Linked DNA regions of Homo sapiens: regions 2, 3, 4, 5, 6 and 7 are each linked to region 1. Evidence: promoter capture Hi-C in 16 types of primary human blood cells and fetal thymus (Javierre and others, 2016). All regions are on one chromosome and are shown on one strand. Each heading gives the region's core, a stretch centred on a gene start or on the middle of the fragment in contact. The rest is flanking DNA. Distances are from core to core; before and after follow the strand shown.

The links. Contacts are between HindIII fragments. The CHiCAGO score rates a contact against its expected background, and 5 or more counts as called.
Region 2: a fragment that was not itself captured here is called in contact with the fragment with the promoter of UST-AS2 in region 1 in 17 of 17 cell types (naive CD4 T cells, total CD8 T cells, M0 macrophages and 14 more); the score reaches 59.1 in naive CD4 T cells.
Region 3: a contact is called between a fragment that was not itself captured here and the fragment with the promoter of UST-AS2 in region 1, in 17 of 17 cell types (naive CD8 T cells, activated CD4 T cells, naive CD4 T cells and 14 more). The highest score is 44.2, in naive CD8 T cells.
Region 4: a contact is called between a fragment that was not itself captured here and the fragment with the promoter of UST-AS2 in region 1, in 17 of 17 cell types (megakaryocytes, endothelial precursors, erythroblasts and 14 more). The highest score is 23.9, in megakaryocytes.
Region 5: a fragment that was not itself captured here is called in contact with the fragment with the promoter of UST-AS2 in region 1 in 17 of 17 cell types (activated CD4 T cells, megakaryocytes, total CD4 T cells and 14 more); the score reaches 59.5 in activated CD4 T cells.
Region 6: a contact is called between a fragment that was not itself captured here and the fragment with the promoter of UST-AS2 in region 1, in 2 of 17 cell types (naive B cells and M1 macrophages). The highest score is 5.7, in naive B cells.
Region 7: a fragment that was not itself captured here is called in contact with the fragment with the promoter of UST-AS2 in region 1 in 16 of 17 cell types (naive CD4 T cells, activated CD4 T cells, total CD4 T cells and 13 more); the score reaches 19.6 in naive CD4 T cells.

Annotation. Positions count from the first base shown.
Region 1 is chr6:149,030,585-149,033,932 of GRCh38, forward strand. It overlaps UST-AS2 (UST antisense RNA 2), which reads right to left and starts at 2,077. Exons shown (of 2, transcript NR_134599.1): 1 at 1,941-2,077. All of the region lies in intron 7 of UST (uronyl 2-sulfotransferase), which reads left to right. RefSeq lists an enhancer at 2,481-2,670. The HindIII fragment of the contact is 1,599 bases long and covers 872-2,470 here.
Region 2 is chr6:149,436,433-149,440,125 of GRCh38, forward strand. No RefSeq gene overlaps it. Among named protein-coding and RNA genes, the nearest start is that of SUMO4, 38 kb to the left of the region's middle. The HindIII fragment of the contact is 9,116 bases long and covers 1-3,693 here.
Region 3 is chr6:149,416,481-149,420,164 of GRCh38, forward strand. No RefSeq gene overlaps it. Among named protein-coding and RNA genes, the nearest start is that of SUMO4, 18 kb to the left of the region's middle. The HindIII fragment of the contact is 4,936 bases long and covers 1-3,684 here.
Region 4 is chr6:149,500,987-149,504,626 of GRCh38, forward strand. It overlaps PPIL4 (peptidylprolyl isomerase like 4), which reads right to left. Exons shown (of 13, transcript NM_139126.4): 13 at 3,509-3,640. Among named protein-coding and RNA genes, the nearest start is that of ZC3H12D, 18 kb to the left of the region's middle. The HindIII fragment of the contact is 254 bases long and covers 2,228-2,481 here.
Region 5 is chr6:149,518,734-149,522,050 of GRCh38, forward strand. It overlaps PPIL4 (peptidylprolyl isomerase like 4), which reads right to left. Exons shown (of 13, transcript NM_139126.4): 10 at 2,327-2,438. Among named protein-coding and RNA genes, the nearest start is that of PPIL4, 26 kb to the right of the region's middle. The HindIII fragment of the contact is 3,012 bases long and covers 325-3,317 here.
Region 6 is chr6:148,591,054-148,594,399 of GRCh38, forward strand. No RefSeq gene overlaps it. Among named protein-coding and RNA genes, the nearest start is that of UST, 150 kb to the right of the region's middle. The HindIII fragment of the contact is 5,455 bases long and covers 1-3,346 here.
Region 7 is chr6:149,534,621-149,538,092 of GRCh38, forward strand. It overlaps PPIL4 (peptidylprolyl isomerase like 4), which reads right to left. Exons shown (of 13, transcript NM_139126.4): 5 at 976-1,118; 6 at 58-154. Among named protein-coding and RNA genes, the nearest start is that of PPIL4, 9.7 kb to the right of the region's middle. The HindIII fragment of the contact is 1,412 bases long and covers 1,275-2,686 here.

The DNA of each region.
Region 1 (3,348 bases), core at 827-3,326:
AACTCAATTATCATTGATGAAAACAGGACTTCAATTTGCTATTGGTTCATTTACCATCGATATTCTCTATAAAGATTTTTTTTTTCAGCAGCCATGTCCCAGGCTCAGATCCTAATAATGTCAGCACTGGATCTTGTGTGTGTGTTACCTTAACACACACACAAGATGTGTTATCTTAAGCCAGTGTGTTATCTTAAGCCAGTACGAGGCAATACACACAGAAAAAAATAATTTTGAGAATAGATCTGTTTGACAACACCTGACGTCTTTCCAGTGGGGGTTGCGGGGACGTAGGGAATAGCAGTGCAAGGTCTTTAAGATAGTGTCTAAAAATCTAAGCTGGGCTGGGCATGCTGGCTCATGCCTGTAATCTCAACATTTTGTTAAGCCAAGGCAGGTGGATCACAAGGTCAGGAGTTCGAGACCAGCCTGGCCAACATGGTGAAACCCCATCTCTACTAAAAATACAAAAATTAGCCAGGCATGGCAACACATGCCTGTAATCCCAGCTACTCAGGAGGCTGAGGCAGGAGAATTGCCTGAACCCGGAAGGTGGAGGTTGCAGTGAGCTGAGATCGAGCCATTGCACTCTAGCCTGGGCCACAGAGCAAGACTCATCTCAAAAAAAAAAAAAAAAAAGTCTAAGCTGAAGGCATATAACTGGTTCAGCTGTAGCTACTGGGCAAATAGTTCATTAAAAATGAACACATAATGTAAACCCCTTTAACTTCTAAACACTTGTGATTTTTTTTAGTGAACATTTTTCTGAGGGGAACTGTATAACCACAGGCTGATAACATCATTCAGTTTACAGAAACATCACCAATTCACAAGAATTCAGCCTCTAGGCTTGTTTAATTTACTTTATGAAAGCTTAAATTGCAGCATAATATATGTGCGTTTGGCCTATTTCAACTATTACTCTTTGTTTTATTGGAAAACATGTTTTACTCTTGCTTACTGATTTGTTCTTGCGTTGGGATCATCTCTCCTCCAGGAGAAAGCATTTCCAATTTTATTATGAAAGATTAACAGGAAAATAGAACTTCCTTCACAGACATTGATGTTCTAGGAATAACTTTACAAAAATATTTCTCTTCTCTGAAAACTAATATTTAAATAGGTGTAATCTGAAACTACCAGAAAAATTCAACAAACACCTCCAGCAAATAAATAGCTGAGTGTCTGTGATGTCCCTTTCCTGGGGAAGGGCAGTATAAAGATGAAAATCTTGTCTAGCTGGAAGGCCGTCACTAACAGGGCTGGGGCGCATAACCCTGTGGAGACATTTGTGCCCGGCCTTAAAGGGTGCGTAGGAGTTTGCCAAGTGGACGTGGAAGGAGGCATTTTAATAAGAGGAAAATAACATGATTGGAAGCGTGGAGGTGAGAAAGCATAGAAGCACTCAGAGTGAGGAGAGCTGGGGCTTGGGCCAGCCCACGTCAGCCCCTGCCTGCGGACCCAGCCTCTTGGAGCCAGGCTCACTCACCCTGCCTTTAAGACGGCCCTACCAGAGGCAGGAGAAGGATCCGCAGCCTCAGCTTTCTGTGGCGCAACCTGGCACTGAGTCACTCATACCAATCTCAGCGCCAGTGGCCAAGCCGCTGCTGCCGGAGGGCCTGTGTCACCCTCCCCCCGTTTCCCTGCCCTCTTCCCATCCTACCACCACCCAAGCTCCCTGGCTTCCTAACAGTGTGGCAGGGATCCTCCCAGGCCCCCATCCTCCTCCAGCCTGAGTTCTTCCTCCCTGCTGTCTTCCCAGTCTTCCCCACTAAGATCCCACCACCCTTCAGACCCGGGCTCACACCAGCTCCTGCTGGCCCCATGTGCCTCGCACCGAATACAGGAGGTCGCACACTGCATCCCCAGACACCAAGTACTGCCCTGCTTGACCACCTATGTTCCCCTGGGCCCACCAGCATGGACTCTCCTTCTGTTACCAGTCACTGCCTGATCCAGGCATGAGCTGCCTGTGTCCCCCGACATCATCCTCCTGGCACCATCCTCTGCTCTTCCTGGCCTTCTTCACTGGGAGCCTTCGGGATCATCCCTCCAGATCAAGTTCTTCCAGCCCCACCTCCCTCCCACCCTGTGCACCCAGGGAAATTCATCTCTTCTGGGTCCCAACCTTGGCCTCGGGAGAGCCCCAGATGCCCCCCTCTGTGTCTACCCCAGTTACTCAGTGTGGTCAGACTTGGGGGTTGTACAGTTTTCTGTCTCATGATTCATTTCCCCAGGCAAAAAGCTGGCTAATAATATCTGGGTGTGCGGGGGAGGTACCAGTGTGTTTCTGTGTTTGGAGGTGAATTTTTTTCTACTTTAGAATTTAATCACTTCTACTTTGAGCAGTTTTTAGCTGAGCTGACAGTAATATGCTCTGCATTGAGTATTTGTAGGGGGTGGAATTAGTCACCACAAATTTCAATTTTTGGACTTTCCTGATAACGCCACAAAGCTGAAAGGCTTCTAAAGCTTGAGCAAAGATTGGAAACTTGACCCCAGGGGTTGATGGTTGATCTTTATAAAAACGACCTTGTGGTCAGTTTGTTCTTTTATGCTTAAATTGTCAAGGTCCCTGTCCACCCCAGGAATTAATGTGGTGATGTGGAAAGAGCACTAGACAAAGGATTTCAAAACTGTCTTTGGGCCCTTGGCTCGTGGCCTTAGCTCTCTGACATTCTTTGCTTATAAAATGTACCCCCTGCCGGGGCGAAGTACAATCCTTACCCATTTTGCATGACTCAACATTTTATAATGGAAGCTTCTATTTTTGTCTGGCTAAATCTTTTTCAAATAAAAATATTTCTTGGTCTGTATATTTTTCATGTCTCAGACATTTTTATCAATACATAATGTCCTAGCTTTTCACATCTTGCAAATGGCACAGAATTGTGAAAGAATACAGCAAAAAGCTAGAAATATACCTGTGTATATAACATTGCTGGGGATTTTTATGTGTGGTTTCTTGTGGGTTCTAGTAAGCACGTTCATTTCATTACCTACAAACGCATAGAAAAATCCAACATAATCCCACACTGATGAGAAGAAGAGAGGGTTGTTTGTCAGGTGGGGTAGTTTCACTTGACTTGAAGGTCTCACCCCGCCCCTCGTCTTTACCATAGCATACGCTTCTAGATGCTTCTGCTGCATTGTCAACCAGACTCTACCAGAACTGTTTTTCAAAACATGTGTTCCTAGGATTTTACCTCCCTGCATTTTTTGCTATATCTATTAAGTAATGCATGTATATAATTAAAAATCAAATAGTCCTATAAGATGTATAATGAAAACCAGCAGTTTCCTATTCCAACCCTCCCAAAGATGAAGTCTGATGTTGCAGAGCCAATC
Region 2 (3,693 bases), core at 915-3,414, 410 kb after region 1:
GCAGGACTTTCAGTACTAACATTGGGACGGTCCTGGGCAAGCTGAGGTGATGGGTCACCAAGGATCCCCAGGATTCCAAGTGGCTCCAGGCTCTTTGTCTCCCTCCATTTGGAGACCGTGTCCGTCCTGTACCCACAAAAGTGCTCAGTGGCCTCATGGCCCAGTGGCTTTGTGGCTGGGTCAGCTGCAACTTTGGATCCCTGATATTTTCTCCATGGGGCAAGAGCGATGGGTGTTTGGCAGCCACTGTCACAGCCTTTGAGGTGATAACAGCACTGTCGTGGGCCACAACCCCCAGCATGGGCTGAAAACAGCCACAAGCCTGCCTGGACTCACAGCCACACTGAGATTAGTGCCAGCAAAGTGCCCTCTGTAGGTGGGACAACCGTGCCCCCTCGACTTACTCTGCGAGGAGCTTAACGACAGCCCTGAGGTGCCGGGGCCCGGGGTCACGGAGCTCCCGTAGCCGAGGACAGTGCTGTTATCACATCATGCCCAGCACTACCATGCCCAGCTATTTTTTGCATTTTTAGTAGAGACGGGGTTTCACCATGTTGCCCAGGCTGGTCTTGAACTCCTGGCCTCTACAAGGCCTCTACAAGTGATCCACCCACCTCGGCCTCCCAAAGTGCTGGGATTACAGGTGTGAGCCACCGCTGAGCTACCACTTCCGGCCAGACACCACATTTTTTTATCCACTCATCAGTTGATGGGCACTCAGGTTGACTCCATATGTCTGCAATTGTAAATTGTGCTGCAATAAACATACGCGTGCAGATGTCTTCTTTTTATTAGTATTTAATGACTGAATTTCCTTTCGGTAGATACGCAGGAGTGGAATTGCTGGATTGAATGGTAGATCTTCTTTTAGTTATTTGAGAAATCTCTATACTGCTTTCCTTAGAGGTTGTGTTAATTTACATTCCCACCAGCAGGATGTGGGCATTCTTTTTCTACCACATTAGTGCCAACATCTATCGTTTTTTGACTTTTTGGTAATGGCTATTCTGGCTGGGGTAAAGTGGTATTACATTGTGGTTTTAATTTGCATTTCCCTGATGATTAGTGACATTGAACATTTTTTCATACATTTGTTGGTCATTTGCAGATCTTTTTTGAGAAATGTCTGTTCATGCCATTTGCCTACTTTTGTAATGTGATTATTTGGGTTGTTTTCTTGCGGATTTATTTTAGTTCCTTGTAGATTCTGGATATTAGTGCTTTATCAGAGGCATAGTTTGCAAATATTTTCTCCCATTCTGTAGGTTGTCTGTTTACTCTGTTGATAATTTCTTTTGTTGTGCAGCTTTTTAGTTTAATTAGGTCCCATTTATTTTTGTTGTTGTTGTTGCTGCATTTGCTTTTGGGGTCTTAGTCATAAATTCTTTGCCTAGGCCTGTCCAGAAGACTTTTTCCTAGGTTTTCTTCTAGAATTTTTATGGTTGCAGGTCTTAGATTTAAGTATTGTATCTATCTTGAGTTGATTTCTGTATACAGTGAGAGATGGGGATCCAGTTTCATTCTTCTAAAGGCAGCAATCCAATTTTCCCAGCAGCATTTACTGAATAGAATATCCTTTCCCCAGTTTGTGTTTTTGTGTGCTTTTTGAAGATTAGTTGGATGTAAGTATTTGGCTTTATTTCTGGGTTCTCTATTCTGTTGCATTGGTCTATGTGTCTATTTCTGTATCAGTACCATGCTGTTTTAGCAACTATAGTCTTGTAATATATAATTTGAACTTGGGTAGTGATTTGTTCTTTTTGCTTAGGATTGCTCTTTTGTTCCAGATTTGTTCTTTTTGCTTAGGATTGCTTTGGCTATATGGGCTCTTTTTGGTTCCGTGTGAATTTTAGGTTGAGGGCTTTTCTAATTCTGTGGAAAATGACCTTGGTATTTTGATAGGAATTGCACTGAATCTAGAGATTGCTTTGGGCAGTATGATCATTTTCACAATATTGATTCTTCTAACCCATGAGCATGGGACGTTTTTCCATTTGGTTATGTCATCTATGATTTCTTTCATCTACTTTCTTTCATAGGTCTCTTTGTAGAGAACTTTCATCTCCTTGGTTAAGTATATTCCTAGGTTTTGTTTTGTTTTGTTTTTGTTTTTGTTTTTGTTTTTGTTTTGTTTTTTTGAGACATAGTTTTGCTCTTCTTGCCCCAGGCTGGAGTGCAATGGCACAACCTTGGCTCACTGCAACCTCTGCCTCCCTGGTTCAAGGGATTCTCCTGCCTCAGCCTCTGCAGTAGCTGGGATTACAGGTATGTGCCACCATGCCCAGCTAATTTTGTGTTTTTAGTAGAATGTGGTTTCTCCATGTTGTTCATGCTGGTCTCGAACTCCTGACCTCAGGTGATCCACCTGCCTCAGCCTCCCAAAGTGCTGGGATTACAAGCATGAGCCACCGTGCCCGGCCTTTTTGGTAGCTATTATAAAACGAGTGGAGTTCTTGATTTGACTCTCAACTTGTTCATTGCTGGTGTATAGCAGTGCCACTCATTTGTGTGCATTGGTTTTATAACCTGAGACTCTACTGAATTCGTTTATCAAATCTAGGTGTCTTTTGGATGAGTCTTTGGGGTTTTCTAGGTATAAGGTCATATCATGGCAAACAGAGATAGTTTGACTTCCTCTTTTACAATCTGGAGGCCCTTTATTTCTTTCTCTTGCCAGATTTCTCTGGCTAGGACTTTCAGTACTGTGTTGAATAGAAGTAGTGAACGTGGGCATCCAGGTCTTGTTCCAGTTCTTTGGGGGAATGTTTTCAACTTTTCCCCATTCAGAATGATGTTGGCTGTGGGTTTGTTGTATGTGGCATTTATTATTTTGAGCTATGTTCCTTCTGTGCCCAGTTTGTTGAGGGTTTTTATCATAAAGTGATGCTGAATTTTATGGAATACTTTTTCTGCATCTGTTGAGATAATCATCATATGGTTTTGTTTTTCATTCTGTTTATGTGGTGAATCACACTTATTGACTTGCATATGTTGAACTATCCCAGGGCCCTGGGATGGAACCCACTTGATCATGGTAAATTATCTTTTTGATGTGCTGTTGGATTCACTTTTCTAGAACTTTGTTGAGGATTCTTGTATCTGTGTTCATCAAAGATAGTGTCTGTAGTTTTGTTTGTTTGTTTGTTATGTTCTTTCCTGGCTTTGTTATCAGGGTGATATTGGCTTCATCGAATGAGTTAGGGAGGGTTTCCTCCTTGATCTTTTGGAATTGTTTCTGTAGGATTGGTAGCAATTCTTCTTGGAATGTCTAGTAGGATTCGGCTGTGATTTCACTGGGTCCTGGGCTTTTTAATGTTGGGAGATTTTTTATTACTCATTCAATGTCACTGCTTTTTACTGGTCTGTTCAAGATTTCTATCTCTTCCTGATTCAAGCTGGGTGGGGGTGGGATTTGGGGTTAATTATATCTTGTTTTGCTGAGGTCAGTGGGAAGAGGCAGCTCAGAAGCTGAAAAGCAGCCTGGAATCCCAGTCCACCAACCCCTTGCTTTTCCCCCATCTAGCCCAGCCTCAGTTCATTCTGCCAGCAAAAGAAAGAGACCAAAGCACTACTGGCAGACCTTCACAGGTTTGTGTGTAGGTCTGAGGCCTGCGCCAGCTAAGCACATATTTTGAACATCCCCCTTTTCAACAATGAAAAATTATTTCTCATGTCGTTTCTGCTCATTAACAA
Region 3 (3,684 bases), core at 624-3,123, 390 kb after region 1:
TGAAGCCAATGCACATTGACCATTCCAAAAATCCTAGGGCTCTTAAGAGTTATGCTAAATATACGCTGTCTGTGCTCTAGAAATGGAACAACAGAGCCTGGATGGCAGCACATCTGTTTATAGCTTGGTTTACTGAATATTTTAAGCTGACTGTTGAGACTTACTGCTCAGAAAAAAAAAAAAAAAAAAAAAAGATTTCTTTCAAAATATTACTGTTCATTGACAATGCACTTGGTCACCCAAGAGCTCTGAGGGAGTTGTATAAGGAGATTTCTGTTTTCATGCCTGCTAATATATCCATTTTGCAGCCTGTGGATGAAGGAATAATTTAGACTTTGAAGTCTTTATCACTTAAGAAATACATTTCATAAGGCTATAGCTGCCATTGATAGTGATTCCTCTAATGGATCTGGGTAGAGTAAACTGAAAACCTGGGAAGAATTCACCATTTTAGATGACATTAAGAACATTCATGATTCATGGGAGGAGGTCAAAATATCAACACTAATAGGAGTTTGAAAGCAGTTGATTTCAACCCTCGTGGATGACTTTGAGGGGTTCAAGACTTCAGTGGAGGAAGTCACCGCAGGTGTGGAAATAGCAAGAGAACTAGAATTAACAGTGGAGCATGAAGATGGGACTGAATTGCACTCTCATGATCAAAGTTGAACAAATAAAGAGTTGCTGTTTATGGACGAGAAAAAGTGGTATCTTGAGATGGAATCTCCTCCTGACGAAGATGCTGTGAACGCTATTGAAATGACAACAAAGGATTTAGGATATTACATAAACTTAGTTGATAAGCAGCCACAGGGTTTGAGAGGATTGACTCCACGTTACTGTGGGTAAAATGCTACCAAACAGCATCACATTCTACAGAGAAATCTTTCATGAAAGAAAGAGTCAGTCGATGCAGCCAGCTTCATTGTTGTCTTATTTTAAGAAATTGCCCCAGTCACCCCATCCTTCAGCAGCCACCACCCTGATCGGTCAGCAGCCATCACCCTGATCAATCAGCGGCCATCAAGACCCTCCACCAGCAAGAAGATTATGACTTGCTGAAGGCTCAGATGATTGTTAACATTTCTTAGCAATAAAGTATTTTTAATTAAGGAATGTACATTTTGTTTTTAGACATAATGCTATTGCACACTTAATAGGCTGCAGAATAGTGTAAACAATTTTATGTGCACTGGGAAACCAAAAAATTCATGTGACTGACTGTATTGTGATACCCACCTTATTATGGTGGTCTGGAACCAAACCTGCAATATCTCCAAGGTATGACTGTCAGGACAGGTGTGTCTTTGTGTCCCCATAGCAAATAACTTCATACATGGCAAAAGGTCAGTAGTTGATGATGATTCTTTTTTTATTTAAGATAGGGTATCACTGTTTTGCCCATCCTGGACTTCTAGGCTCAAGCTATTCTCCCACCTCAGCCTCCCAAGTAGCTGGGACTACAAACGTGCCCCACCGCACCCAGACTTGATGATAACGACTCTTAACATGAAGGCCAAGTTAATTTCTAACATTTATTCAAGTTAACCAGTGGGTACAGCCATTTTGAATGTAGTATGTATTTTCCCCTAGAACTAGTATTAGAAGCAGTAGGTTCCCAGGCCAGCCCACTAATTAGCTGGAACGCTTTGCATTTGGAAAACTGAAATAAGGCACAATCATACTATTGGGATAGATAAATGTAACAATGAAACCCAAAAATAATGTTTCTGGTATCTTCTGTGTGGTGCCAGAGGGGGATGAAGAAGTAGAGATCTTTGTGGATATTCTGGAAAATTCAGAAATTGGCATTTCAACCTGAGGCCTCTGTTACATCTAACTTTACTTCAAATTTTAAAGTTTGCTTTTTCATGGACCAAAGTGTTTGAGTGGCTTCTTCTTAGACATAATGAATGTCCTTTTTTGTTTTTCTTCAAAATTGAAGCAGAGGGACATGGGAGAATATTTTTCTGGAGAACACTGGTCAAGAGAAGAGGAAAGAAAGAAGAAAATTAAATGCAAAGTATGTAAAAATCCTGTCTTATTCTTTCCCAAGAAAGGTGAAGAGACAGGCTTCTGACTAAACGATGAGCAGCAGAGAGCAGGGACTCTCACTGGTTAAACTCCACTGGGTCTGATAGCCAACACATTGCCTGAGAGTGAGTGACATGAAACAAGCCCACATTTTATTAATCTGAATTGAAGTCTTAACTACTACCTTTTGGTTTTTAACACAAGTCTTTCACGTGCCCTTTTGCTGAACTGCCAAATTCTTTTTGTAATAAAACAGCATACACATCTTAGAACACCAATTTGCTAACCCAGACAACCAAGCTCTGCTAAGGTAATGAATGAGAAGCAATATATGCAGTTTCCATTCCAGTGAATGATAATAGGTGATTTTTGTTATGAAGTATCTCAAAGCATGATTATATTCAATATCGAATGACAAAAACACACAGCAAAGATTTTTAAACTTCCACCTGTATTGCTCTCTTTATTAACCATAATCTCTTTCTTTTCTACTGTTTATTATGTTTTGTTTTGTTTTTGTTTTGAGACAGAGTCTAGCTCAGCCACCCAGACTGGAGTGCAGTGGCGCGATCTCGGCCCACTGCAACCACTGTCTTCTGGGTTCAAGCGATTCTCCTGTCTCAGCCTCTTGAGTAGCTAGGATTACAGGCACCTGCCATCATGCCCAGCTAATTTTTGTATTTTAGTAGAGACGGGGTTTCACCATGTTGGCCAGACTGATCTTGAACACGTGACCTTAAGTGATCCGCCCACCTCGGCCTCCCAAAGTGCTGGGATTACAGGCATGAGCCACTGCGCCTGGCCTCTGTTTATTATTAATATGCTAACAGTTAACAGGTAACTACTGGCTTCACATTACAAGAAACAAGGGGCTCCCAAATTTGGAAACGAGTAAAGAATAAGTAGTACTCACTGAAAACCTTAGGCCAACTGTCATTTTGTCCTTTTGATTCCAGTTTGTGCTAAGGTAGCAATAGTAATTTCTCAGTTCTCAATCTGCACAATCATCTTTATATTTCAAAAATTTCACATTTTGAATTTGCTACTTCCTCCTTTTGCTAGTCTTCCTAATCTTAGCCACATTCTCTCATTTTCTTCACTGCTTTATACCCTGCTTCCAGCTTAGGTCTGGCACATAGTAGGTGGGCAACAAATTTTGTTACGTTATGAATTTGATGACAGGGTCTAGCTTAATTTTTCTATGATTTTCCCCAAATGCTTTTCAGTATCACATTCCTGCCATAGGTCAGGCAGTGTGTTTGATGACACGAGAGACAGTCACCACCTTAGAGCTTATAAAGGAGAAATAAGCATGCAAGTACAGTCAATCATTATCTGTGGATTCGTTTGTGAATTTCCCTATTCACTAAAAATGGTCATGGCACTTTCATAGTCCTTTGCAGATATGGGTAGAACAGTGACAAACTTGAGTCACCCAATGGTCATATTCCCATCTCAGGTCAAGCTACACAATGGTCTGCCTCTTGTGTCAGCTCCTGTACTGTGAACCAAGTGTCCTTTCTGCAGTCTATTTAGGGATATGTTTTTTGCATTTGTATTGGTGATTTTGCCATTTAAAATGCCCTCAACATTGTGCGGAAATGCTGTCGAGTGTTCTAAGCCCAAGAATGCCAGGATGGGCCTTAGCGA
Region 4 (3,640 bases), core at 1,105-3,604, 470 kb after region 1:
CAACAGAGTAAGACTCCATCTCAAAACAAACAAACAAACAAAATGTAAATAAATATCTTTTAAAGGTTTTTAAAATTATTCTTTCCAGAATTACATATTTGGGATTATGATTATCAGGGTTTCAACCTTCATGATCATGGCATTTGGGATTATGTATTTCCGGATTATGAGTGGCTCCCCAAAAGGCTACATAATACAGAATTCCACTTATATAAAATCCTTGAAATGACATAATTATAGGAATGGAGAACATATCAGTGGTTGACAGAGGTGAAGGAGAAAACAGAAGTGGCAGGGAAGTAGACGTGGCTATAAAAGGACAGCAAGAGGGGTCCTTGTAGTGATGGAAATTTTCTGTATCTCCACTGTGTCCATGTCAGCATCTTGGTTGTGATACCATACTAGAATCTTACAAGATGGTATCACTGGAAGAAACTAGGCAAAGGGTACACAGGTTCTCTCTGTATTATTTCTTATGATTGCATGCCAATCTACAACTGATTTCAAAATTGAAAGTTTAACCACAGCAAAAAAGCAATCAGAAAGAAAAGTCACATTATATCCAAAAGAATGACATTTGGAATGACAAAAGATTTCTCCCCAGTAGTAACAAAAGTAAAAAGATAGTAGACTAATTCTTCAAAGTACTGGGGGAAAAAAAGACACACCTCAACTTAGAATTATGTACATATAAAATCAACTTTATAGAATGAATTGAAAATACTTTTGATAAATGTAAACTAAGAGTTTGCCATCAACAGATGTCACTAGAGGAACATCAAAAGATGTGCTTCAGAAAGAAGGAAAATTATCCTAGGTGAAAGGTCTGAGATGTGAGAATAATAATGAATAAACAAACACTTCTAACATATAAAGTAAATCTAAACCAACAATTATCTGTACAAAAACAGTAATAATCACAAGGTCTAATTTTTTTTCTAACAGATGGTGTCTCACTATGTTGCCCAGGCTGGAGTACAGAGGCTAGTCACAGGCACAATCGCAGTGCACTGCAGCCTCTAACTCCTGGCCTCAAGGGATCCTCCGGCCTCAGCCATTCAGGAGCCAGAACTACAGGTGTGCACCACTGAGTCCAGCTCAAGGTCTAATTTTAAGGTGAAAAATCACAAGCTATAACTAAAATACTGAATGATTTTAACACGAAAGTTGCAAGAGGGGTGACTTGGAGAGTTCCAAGACTCTCAATTAGAGAGGAAGATAAAGATATAACATTATACTTTTTAAGTACGGATGTAATATTCCAAGGAAATTCCCCCAAAACAAAGAAGAGGGGGCAGAGGGGTGAGGGTGGAATTAAAAAACATTTTTGATTCCAAAAGAAAAAAAAAGAGTGGAAGAAAAAAACATAAAAAGCACAAAATAAGGTGGTAAGGAATAAATGCAAATACATCAGTACACATAAAAATGCACTCAACTAACCAGTTAAAGTTCAGATTAGATTTAAAAATAATTGGCCGGGTGCAGTGGCTCATACCTGTAACCCCAGCACTTTGGGAGGCTGAGGTGGGCAGATCAGAAGGTCAGGAGTTCCAGACCAGCCTGGCCAATATGGTGAAAACCCTGTTACTAAAAAAAAGAAAAAAAAATTAGCCAGGCCTGGTGGCAAGCACCTGTAGTCCCAGCTACTCAGGAGGCTGAGGCAGTAGAATCGCTTGAACCCAGGAGGTGGAGGTTGCAGTAAGCTGAGATTGCGCCACTGCACTCCAGCCTGGGTGACAGAGTGAGACTCCGTCTCAAAATAGTAATAATAATCATCATCATCATCATCTAGCTATATGCTGTTTATGAGACACACTAAAACATAAGGACATTCATCAACAAAGCAGGATAGAAAAATCTAGCTAAACTATGCGCAATGCTATCAAAAAATAAAAACGTCAATGAAAACAAATTCCCAGAAAAATGTAATAAAAATGACTAACATTAAAGAAATAGAAAGGCTAATAATTCTATAATTTTTGAAACCTAATCAATAGTTAAGAAATTTTCTCACAAAAAAATGCAAAGTTCAGACAATTTTATAGGCAAGCTCTATCCAGCTTTTAAGGAACAGATTAATTTAAATGTTTTTCTTTTCTTCCAAGAGAACAGACAGAGGGAAGGAGAGAGAGACAGCACTCCTTAACTTATTCTTAGTATCCACAATCTATTAAGTATAAAAAGACAACAATCTACTACTATATAAATGGGCAAAAGACATGAAACAAGCTTTTCAGAGAGCAATAAGGAATGAATAATAAACATGGGAAAAGATGCTCAGCCTCATTAACATTTAGGAAATACAAAGTTAACTTCCACTCTAGTCAAAATGGAGTAGCAGAGGCACGATTTACCTTCTCCACCTTAAATTAAAACCTATATAAAATGTATACAAGGAAGTTTTTCAGATGTTAGACAAAAGCCAGTGCAGGACAGTGACTCCTGAGAGATGGAAAACAAAGAAAGCCCTATAATTGCGCAAGCTTCTACATGGGGTTTCTAAGCTGTGGCACTAAGGCTAGGGAAGGGAACCTCCCTGGGTAGAGAATTTAGGGGAGCCAAGGTAAGATTTGCAGGGCAGAATATTGGGTTTCCCTTAAGTCTTCAGCTAAACACCAAGCAGTGTATGCATGTGAGGTAAGGAACAGGAGATACAACTGGGAGCTCAATAGGGTTCAGAATATTTCATGTTCCCAACAGACAGAATGCAGAAACCGTGTAACCAGGAAGATTATTCAGAACGGTATTACCTTCGTAGTGGGTCAAATTAGCCCTAAACTAAAGGCTGTCCCAGTCCTGTCTTATTAAGCTTAAAAGCAAGCTATAAAATGATCGGATTGTTTCCAAGTAACTTTATGTCCCCAAACAGAGTTCAAGATACTTAAAAGAACTCCAGCACCCAATATTAAAAACAGAAATTACCAGGCATGTAATGAAGGAAGTTACAATCCAATATGGGCAGGGTGGGGGTTGGGGTAGGGTGGGAATCAATCAATAGAAACAGACCAGAAATGATGCAGATGACAGAATGGGCAAGCACACTGAAAGAGCTATTATCAATACACTCCAGATGTTGAAAAAAAAAAAAATAGAGGAAGGCATGAGCATGTGAAGGAGACACATGGGAGATAAAGACCCAGACAGAAATTCTAAAGACTAAAAATATGTCGGAGGTGAAAAATACCTGGATACGATTAAAAGGAAATTAGATACTTTAGACAGAAAGATTAATAAACAATGAGGACACAGCACTGGAAAGTACCCAACATGAAACACAGAGAGAAAAAGGCTTTTTAAAAAGCTGCACAGAATCAGCACACTGGGAGAAAATTCTGAGGGGCCTAACGTACATCCAAGTCATCAGAGCCCCAGGAGAAGCATGAGAGGAGCAGAGAGAAAACCATAACAGAAGAAAAAATGCCCCCCAATTTCCAAATTCTATGAAAACCATAAACCCACAGGTAAAATAGCTGCAGCAGCAGAAACGTGAAAAAAAAACTACAGCAAGCACATCATAATCAAACTTCTTACAACCAGTGACAGAAAACCTTAAAAGCAGCCAGGAAAAAAATGACATCTTACACATGGAAGAGCAGAGATAACAGTAATCTTGCTGGAAATCACAGGTAGATACCACTTA
Region 5 (3,317 bases), core at 581-3,080, 490 kb after region 1:
TATGGATGAAGCAGTTACCGTATAACAGAAAGGGCACCAGATTAATGTAAGAGGTTCTTGACTGTAGTGGGAGGTCCTAGGTAAGACACCACTTCTCTGCAATTCATTATCTTTATTTACATTATCTTCATTTATAAACTGAAAATAATACCAACATTTCACAGAGTTGCTGGAATCATCAGACTATAAAGGAAAGTTCTTAGTGCTGTGAATGGCACATTATACACATTAAGTTTATAAATGTGAATCAATAACATATATAATTATCTCAAAATTAACTGAGAATAATAAACTGTATGTTTATGATGGCATATACAAAACCAAAGCTTCTCCCTCCTATGTGACATTTTATCTTAGGAAAAAACATGAAGAAATTTATTTAAAAGTCACAAGAAAGTAGTAGTATTTATTCAATGGGTGGATGGGTTGAGAAGAAGACAGGATTGAGAGGGTAAAAAACAAACCAAATGTAGGGTCTGTCTAAATCATCTGTGTATGTGACTCTAGGTAAATCACTTCTCAAGATTATGCCTCAAATTCCATATCTATAATGAGGAATTATAATATTTATTTCATACACTTCCCAAATGATACAATTAAACTAGCTCTTTGGAAGCAGAGCTCTACATAAGAGCCACCTGGCATTACTACTGGCCAGAACTACACTGCATCAGGCCAGCAGCTCACCAACACTTTGAATATACTTACTGGAATCTTTCATTCACAAAGTTGTAATTTTCATATGTGGAAAAAAATCTTAGTGCTTCAATTTAGGTTTCACAAATCACTCAAACAGCACTGTCAAAAACTAGCCATGTGTTCTAGGAGGAGGTAAGGTTTCACAGGAGAAACTAATAGTACATGGAACTCCAATCCAAGTCACCCTCTCCTTTATCACAGAGATCACAGCTTCCACTCAACATTCCTTGCCTACTTTAGTCACATTAATAATTTCTTCCTTCTCTGAACTCCCATAAGGTAACAGAATCCACCAAACAATTCAGCAATTCACAACTAAATAGTGTTTTTCTTTCTTACTAAAAACAGACAAAAAAAACAGTTCATTAAAAGCATGGGAAATAAGTGTTATAGAAAAAGAAAGTAACCCTGAAATTCCCAGTAAAATTTAGCATTACATGTGAGTAACTATCAAAGTGAAACCTGTTAAAAACACTGCATCAAAAACCAAAAACTCGTATTATTTCAACATATGAGAGACCCAACTTTTAAGACTGACATGCTACGAGCAATGTATTTGACATATATGTATGTGTATGTGGGAAATGTAATATGTACAAAGGTGGAACATACTGCTATGGACATGGAAGAGTAAAAATTTAGAAAACCCATTAACAGGGCTGGTTCATTTTATATACTGATATGAACTGATCTCTTAGATACACTGTTAATTAAAAAATGCAAGGTACAAAAACAGTATGTATAGCCTGCATCCTTTGTTTTATATTTTCCTTTTTAAAAGGAGAAAATCATATATATATATATGCACATATGTATTCAAAAAATGTAGGGGAAAGTTAGTACCAATAGGTGATAATGGTTACCCTGGAAGAGAAATTAGATAGATGAGGAGCAGGAATGAATGAGACTTTTATCTACCTTTCCATGGACCTTTTCTATTTTGCATCATATGACAACTAAAACAAACAAAAAAAATTTAAGTTGTGCACCTAAAAGACTCAAAACACCATAAAGTCAAAATAATTACTTTGGAAACATATCATGTCTGCAGTGGGTAATTATTAGTAATTTATAATATAGTCAAACATAGAAAATATAATTTTTCATCAGTTTAAAATACACGCACAGGTGCACACATGCATGTGTGTGCACACACACACACACACACACTCTACCTCAGATTCTAGATAGCAGGTTTGTAAAATTACAAATGGCAGGAGTTACATCAATTAATATTTCTCCTAATTAACAGCACTCAATAAAAGGCTCATACAAGCATGAAAAGCATAACAAAAACAAGGCCGGGCGCAGTGGCTCACGCCTGTAATCCCAGCACTTTGAGAGGCCAAGGCGGTGGATTACCTGAGGTCAGGAGTTCGAGACCAGCCTGGCCAACGTGGTGAAACCCCATCTCTACTAAAAATACAAAAATTAGCTGGGCATGGTGGCACATGCTTGTAATCCCAGCTGCTTGGGAGGCTGAGGCATGAGAATGGCTTGAACCTGGGAGACACAGGTTGCAGTGAACCAAGATCGTGCCACTGCACTCCAGCCTGGGCAACAGAGCGAGACTCCATCTCAAAAAAAAAAAAAAAGCAGAACAAAAACAAAAGATAAACCATCATACCTTTTCCTTTCCATTTAACCTTTGCAACCGACTGGCTAAAATCCACATGTATTCTTCTGTCATCTATAAGCACATTGTCCATTTTGAAGAATGCTTTCTCACAATCTTCTTCCTGATAATAATTATAAAAACTCAAGCATAAATCTTTATGGAAAAGATTTCTGTAGCTAGAATACTGAAAATACAAAAAGTTTGTTGTTACAAAAATTAATGTTTGAATACTTATTACACACCCGATGCTGTTAAATGCTTTGTATCTATTACCTCAAATACCTCTGGTAACAACCCCATGAGGTACTATCCATTTTCTTAATGAGAAAACAGAAGTTTAGAGAAGTATAGAAGTTGTTGGCAAGGGTCAGAGCCAGGATTTTAGAGAGACAGTCCAACTGCAGTGAACAGATAAATATACACTTACTGACTGTATTATACAGGTTCACAATCCTTTTTACTCAAAATTCAAAAACATCCTGGAAAGTGAAAGTTGTGTTCCTAAGTTTGTTGTTAAAATTAATTTGGCAGTAACACCAAACCTAATGGTAGGTTATGACCTTTTTTTATCCACTTAGTATGAATATTCATTTGTTTCACTGCAGAAATACTTTTGTGACAGATTATGGAATGCTGACCCAGAAAGGTATTACATAATCACAGATGTAATGTGTATGTGTGTATGCATATATACAGTATTACCTTTCTGAATTCTGAAAAATTCTGAATTAGGAAGCCTAGTTATTCTCAAGGGTTTTAGATAATGAACTGTGAGACTGTAATACCAAGCTCTGTGCTACACAAGAATCCTTCCTGTCAGTAACTTCACAATTCTAAATCCCTGTTTCTGACACTGACAGTTACATATTTCAACTCAGTACTGACCAATTTTCTTTTACATTCCTGGAAACTTATTCTTACTAGAGATAATCCAAAGAGAAGCAGATAAAATAGTTATAATCATATTTATTACATGTCAATAATTAAATGAATTATAAAA
Region 6 (3,346 bases), core at 578-3,077, 440 kb before region 1:
AGGTGTGGTCACATGACTGAGTTCTAGCCAATGGAATGTGAGAGGAAGCCAGAGCTGACGCATAGAACCTCTCACGTTATTTTCCCTTCCATGGTGACATGGGAAGCATCCATTGAAGAAGGTGGAGCCATGGGTGGGAAAGGAGCCTGATCCCTCAGTTATAGTCAGCCCTCCAAATCTGTGGGCTCCACATCCTTGGATCCAACCAATGCTGACTTGAAAATATTTGAAACAACAACAACAAAAATAACAATATAACAACAAAAAATAATACAAATAGGAAACAATATACAGTAACAACTATTTACACAACATTTACATTATATTAGGTATTTAAATTTTTTTTAGAGTTGGGGTCTCACTATGTTGCCCAGGCTGGAGTGCAGTAGCACAATCATAGCTTACTGCCATCTCAAACTCTGGGGCTCAGGCCATCTTCCCACCTCAGCCTCCCAATGTGTTAGGATTACAGGTGTGAGCCATTGCACCTGGCCTGTGTTAAGTATTATAAGTAATCTAGAGATGATTTAAAGTATACAGAAGGATGTGCACAGGTTATATGCAAATACTATGCCATTTTGTATCAGGGACTTGAGCATCCAGGGATTTTGGTATCTGCAGAGTTGTGGAACCAATCCCCCAGGGAGGCTGAGGGATGATTAAACTTTTTGTGTGTGTGTGTGTGTGAAGTATTTGACAGGTTTACATCACTGCTCACCACTAGGGAACAAATTAATCATTTTTTCTGTGCCTCAGTCTTTTCCTTATCTGAAAATATTGATAGCAACTACCTCCTGGGGCTATTGGAAGTACTAAATGAGTCAATATTTTCACACTTAGAATAGGGCTCTGCTTAGAGTAAGCACTACATAAGGATATATTAAATAGTGAAAGCTCTATAAGTGTCAGTATTATATTAGCCTTTATGGCTGTTAAGGACTGAATATTTGTGTATCCTCAAAATTCTTATGTTGAAATCTTAATCCTCAATGTGACAATACTTGGAGATAGCAACTATGAGAAGGTAATAAAATTAACTGAGGTCACACATATGGGTCCCTAATCTGATAGGTCTGGTACCTTTTTTTAAATTTTTTTTTTGAGATGGAGTCTCGCTCTGTTGCCCAGGCTGGAGTGCAATGGTGCGATCTCAGCTCACTGCAACCTCTGCCTCCCAGGCTCAAGTGATTCTCCTGCCTCAGACTCCCGAGTAGCTGGGACTACAGGCACGTGCCACCACACCCGGCTAATTTTTTATATTTTTTGTAGAGACAGGGTTTCACCATGTTAGCCAGGATGGTCTCCATCTCCTGACCTCTTGATCCTCCCGCATTGGCCTCCCAAAGTGCTGGGATTACAGGCGTGAGCCACCACGCCTGGCCTGGTGCTCTTTTAAGAAGAGGAAAATATATCAGCATTCTCTCTCTGCACACGTGTGCACCAAGGAAGGTCATGAAAGGACACTGTGAGAAGGTGCCATCTGCAATCCAGGAGGGGAGTCCTCACCAGACACGAAATCTGCCAGCACCTTGATCTTGGACTTCTTAGCCTCTACAACTGTGAGAAAATAAATTTCTGTTGTTTAAGACATGCAGTCTGTGATACTTTGTTCTGGCAGCCCAAGCAGATGAACACAATGGCTATTCTAAACATTTTAAGACATTTCCTTGAATGGTAATGAGAATAACCTTGGTTGATAGGTTTTCTTTTTTCAGGATGGCATAAAAGTTAGGAGTTGAGGTTGAGGTGTCAGATGAGTTGGCCTGGGTTCAAATCTTGGCTTTGCAGTACTGTGAGACATGAAAAATTTACTTAACTCCACTAAGTCTTAATTTTCTCATTAATAGGACTATAATATCTACTTCATAGGGCTATTGGAGGATTAATGAGATAATGTTTGTAAAAAAAAATTCAGTGGAGTGCCTGGCACATAGTTAGTCCTAATTAATCTCAGAATCTGTTTTTTTTGGTTGTTATTGTTGTTGTTGTTTACTTTTTGGCGCCAAAACTCTTCCTTGAAGCAAAATCTTAGATAAATAGCCAATCCAGCATAGATGGAAGCAGAGGGTAGGGCTTGGAAGGGAGGAGACCCTCTGTCCACCCACGGGCTTCTCCTCACATCCAGTGACATTCTCCAGAGTGTCCCTGAGTCACCTCTGTGGAATCCTAGCACTGCTCAGCACAGTTTGATCATTTATAGGACTTGAAGTTCCCTAAACGATTATTTTGTTCCAGTTTTAACATTGTTATGACTACGAGAAGTGGCATGTGGCCGTGAAATGGAAGTGGAAGTTGAAATTATACTCACACGACCTTTTCCCTATGTTTGGGCCTCTTCTGACTTAGCAAATGACTTCCACCACTGCCTCTCACGCTCACGGGTTAAGCCCCCTCTCTACAGGAGTCGCCGCCCTTTCTCCCGTCTGCTTCTGCTGCATGGAGAGGGGTGGCAGGACGCTGACATGATGCTGACATGATGCTGTTGCCCTGCTGCCTGGGGCCCCATTGAGGGGTCCAGGCTCCAGATGAGGAGTGAGAGCTCATGAGATTTCATTTGTAGAGCCGGATGGCTAAGTTTCTGACAGATAAGGCCCTCAGCCAGTTACAAGGCATGGTTGTGAAACTAAATTATCTAGGGAAAAAAATGAGCCGTTCTGACACCCCCGTGCCTTCATCCAGTCAAAAGTTAAATTATCGCCCAAATTTTCCCTCTGTACCTCTACTTAGCGGTACAAGTGTAAGCCATACATAAAACTCCAGTTAACTCTGACTGGGCAGGAGTGGCTCCATTTCCCTTGCATTCAGAGGAGGCCACGTGGCTGCTGAAACCCTTAGGGGACTTTCACTCCCACTGGGATGAAATTTTAAGTCTTAACCATGGTCTCTGACCTCATATCCTCTCCGTCTCCTCCTGACCCTTGCTGCTCCAGTCACTCTTGTCTGGGGTTCCTCGAGCATGTGAAGTATTTTCCACTGTCTGAGCCTTTGCACATCTGTTCCTGTGACCTTCCTCCCAGAGAGCCACGGAGCTCCATTCTTCATCAACTTCCTCCTCAAAAAGGCCTTCCTTGCTTGCCGTGTCTAAAACAGCATCACCGATCCCTCTCTAAAATTGTGCCCTGCCAACATACAGTTACGTAGGAGGAATAAATTCAATGTTTGATAGCAGAATAGGGTGACTATAGTTAAACAAAAATGTATTGCACCCAGGAGATGGACACCCTAATTTGATCACTATACATTATATACATGTAACAAAATTTCACATGTACCCCATAAATTTGCACAAATAATAAAAAGTCAACATGAGCCTTTCTTTGTATTTATGGCTCTTACCTCCATCCCA
Region 7 (3,472 bases), core at 731-3,230, 500 kb after region 1:
AATCCATACAAATCATTAATATGAATGTACATTTAATCATAAGAGGGCTTTACTTACATCTAATTGTTCCCTTGTAGGTTCTGGTGATCGATCAGGGATTAATAAATCAGGAGGGTCATCAAATGGATCATCTAAAATCACCGTATGATTTATCCTTACAAAATAAATCCAAATCAAATGTTATACATTGAAGTTATTTCAGAATCCTATTTTATTTTAATAGATTACAAAAAATTACTTGATTATCTCTAAGGCCAAAAAAAACCCATATTGCATATGGATATTACTAACCTAGATATACTTTCACAATGAGTGTTACTGTTTTGCATTGAGTGATACCATATTTATCACCCTGCATTACTTTAAGATGTAAACTAATATAACTGTCTAAATCTTAGTACTTTTGCCCTACTTCTCAATTAAAAAACTAAATTAAAGCATTAACAATTCCTCCAGCTGGGTGCAGTGGCTCATTCCTGTAATCCCAACACTTCAGGAGGCTGAGGTGGGTGGATCATGAGGTCAGGAGATCGTGACCATCCTGGCTAACATGGTGAAACCCCGTCTCTACTAAAAATACAAAAAATTAGCCAGGTGTGGTGGCGGGCGCCTGTAGTCCTAGCTACTTGGGAGGCTAAGGCAGGAGAATGGTGTGAACCCGGGAGACAGAGCTTGCAGTGAGCCAAGATCGCGCCACTGCACTCCAGCCTGGGCAACAGCATGAGACTCCGTCTCAAAAAATAAATAAATAAATAATTCCTCCAAACATAATTATAAATAATTAGTACAAGTATAAAAATACAAAAAGTCCTTTTTATTATAAAGATTCTTACAGTCTTATATTAATTCACCTTTTGGGATTAGAATTATCCAGAAACCAGTCCTATGCATACCGTTCCTATCCATACCACTACGTGTTAAACATCTCAATATTAAAACATTCTAGTACATTCAGATAGCAAATTGTAACCATACCTGATATCCTGATATGGTACAAAGTCCTTGTCAACAAAGGTCTCATTAATTTTCTTAATTATGTCCATGCCTTCTGTCACCTCACCAAACACCGTATGGACACCATCAAGATAATCTAGATTTTCTCCTGTGGTGATAAGAAACTATAAAGAAGGACACATAATAAATACCATAAAAATAATACATAACTCAAACTGAAATCAGTTACAGACTGACAAAAAAATACATGAAAGTTAAGAGTCCACATTTACTGCACCAATTCTTAGACACTTGTTACCAAAACTAAGTAAAAAGTACAAAGCTTATACTGGCATACCTCATTTTATTGCACTTTGCAGATACTGCATTTTTTACAATTAAGGATTTCTGGCAACCGTGTATTGAGTAAGTCTATTGGTGCCATTTTCCCAACAGCATAGGCTCACTTCATGTTTCTGGCTCACATTTTGGTGATTCTCACAAGATTTCAAACTTTTTCATTACTATTGTATCTGTTATTACCATCTATAATCTTTGATCTTACTACCGCAATTGTTTTGGGGCACCACAAACTGTGCCCATATAAGATGGTGAACTTAATCCATAAATGTTGTATGTGTTCTGACTACTCCACCAACCAGCCATTCCCATCTTTCTCCCTCTCAGTGCTCCCTATTCCCCGAGACACAATACTGAAATGAGGCCAATTAACCCTACAAGAGACTCTTAAGTGTTCAAGTAAAAGGAAGAATGGCACATCTCTTACTTTAAATCAAAAGCTAAAAATGATTAAGCATAGTGAGAAAGGCACGTTGAAAGCCAAGATAAGCGGAAAGCTAGGCCTCTAGTACCAAACAATAGCTGAGTTGTAAATGCAAAGGAAAAGTTCTTAAAGAAAATTAGAAGTGCTATTCCAGTGAACACATGAATGATAAAATGAAACAGGCTTACTGCTGATATGAAGAAGGTTTTAGTAATCTACATAGGTCAAACCAGCCACAACGATCCCTTAAGCCAAAGCCTAATTCCAAACAAGCCCTAACTTTATTCAATTCTATAAAGGCTGAGAGAGGGAAGGTAGCTGCAAAAGAAAGTCTGAAGCTAGCAGAGGTTAATTCATGAAGTTTAAGGAAAGAGGCCAGGCGCAGTGAATTACTCCATCTCAAAAAAAAAAAAAAAAGAAAAGAAAAATTTAAGGAAAGAAGCTGTCTCCATAATTTAAAAGTGCAAGGTGAAGCAGCAAGTGCTGACACAGAAGCTACAGCAAGTGGCCAGGTGCAGTGGCTCACGCCTATGTAATCCCAGCACTTTAGGAGGCCGAGGCAGGCAGATCACAAGCTCAGGAGTTCAAGACCAGCCTGACCAACATGGTGAAACCCTGTCTCCACTAAAAATACAAAAGTTAGCCAGGCATGGTGGCGTGTGCCTGTAATCCCAGCTACTCAGGAGGCTGAGGCAGGAGAATTGCTTGAACCCAGGAGGCGAAGGTTGCAGTGAGCTGAGATCATGCCACTGCACTCCAGCCTGGGCAACAGAGTGAGAATCTGTCTCAAAAAAAAAAAAAAAAGAAGCTGCAGCATGCATCAAGTTATCTGGAAGATCTAGCTAAGATCACTGATGAAGATGACTTCATGAAATAACAAATTTTCCATGAAGACGAAACAGCCTTATATTGGAAGATGCCACTTAGGACTTTCACAGCTAGAGAGGAAAAGTCAATGCCTAGCTTCAAAGCTTCAAAGACAAGCTGACTCTTCTGTTACATGCTAATCCAGCTGGTGACTTTAAGTTGAAACCAATGCTCACTGACTATACCAAAAATCCCAAGGCCGTTAAGAATGATGCTAAATCGGCCGGGCGCGGTGGCTCACGCCTGTAATCCCAGCACTTTGGGAGGCCGAGGCGGGTGGATCACGAGGTCAGGAGATCAAGACCATCCTGGCTAACACGGTGAAACCCCGTCTCTACTAAAAATACAAAAAATTAGCCGGGCGTGGTGGCAGGCGCCTGTAGTCCCAGCTACTTGGGAGGCTGAGGCAGGAGAATGGCGTGAATCTGGAGGTGGAGCTTGCAGTGAGCAGAGATTGCGCCACTGCACTCCAGCCTGGGCGACAGAGCAAGACTCCATCTCAAAAAAAAAAAAAGAATGATGCTAAATCTATTCTGCCTGTGCTCTAGAAATGGAACAACAAAGCTTGGATGACAGCACATCTGTTTACAGCAGGGTTTATCAAATATTTTAAGATCACTGTTGAGACCTGCCGCTCAGAACAAAGATCCTTTTAAATATGACTGCTCTTTTAATAAGAAATCCTTTTAAAATATTACTGCTCATTGACAATACTCCAGGTCACCCAGGAGCTCTGATGGATATGATGTACAAGGAAATTAATATTGTTTTCAGCTGTGCACAGTGACTGACACCTGTAAACCCAGCACTTTGGGAGGCTGAGGCAGGTGGATCACTTGAGGCCAGTTCAAGACCAGCCTGGCCAACACAGTCAACATGGTGAAACCC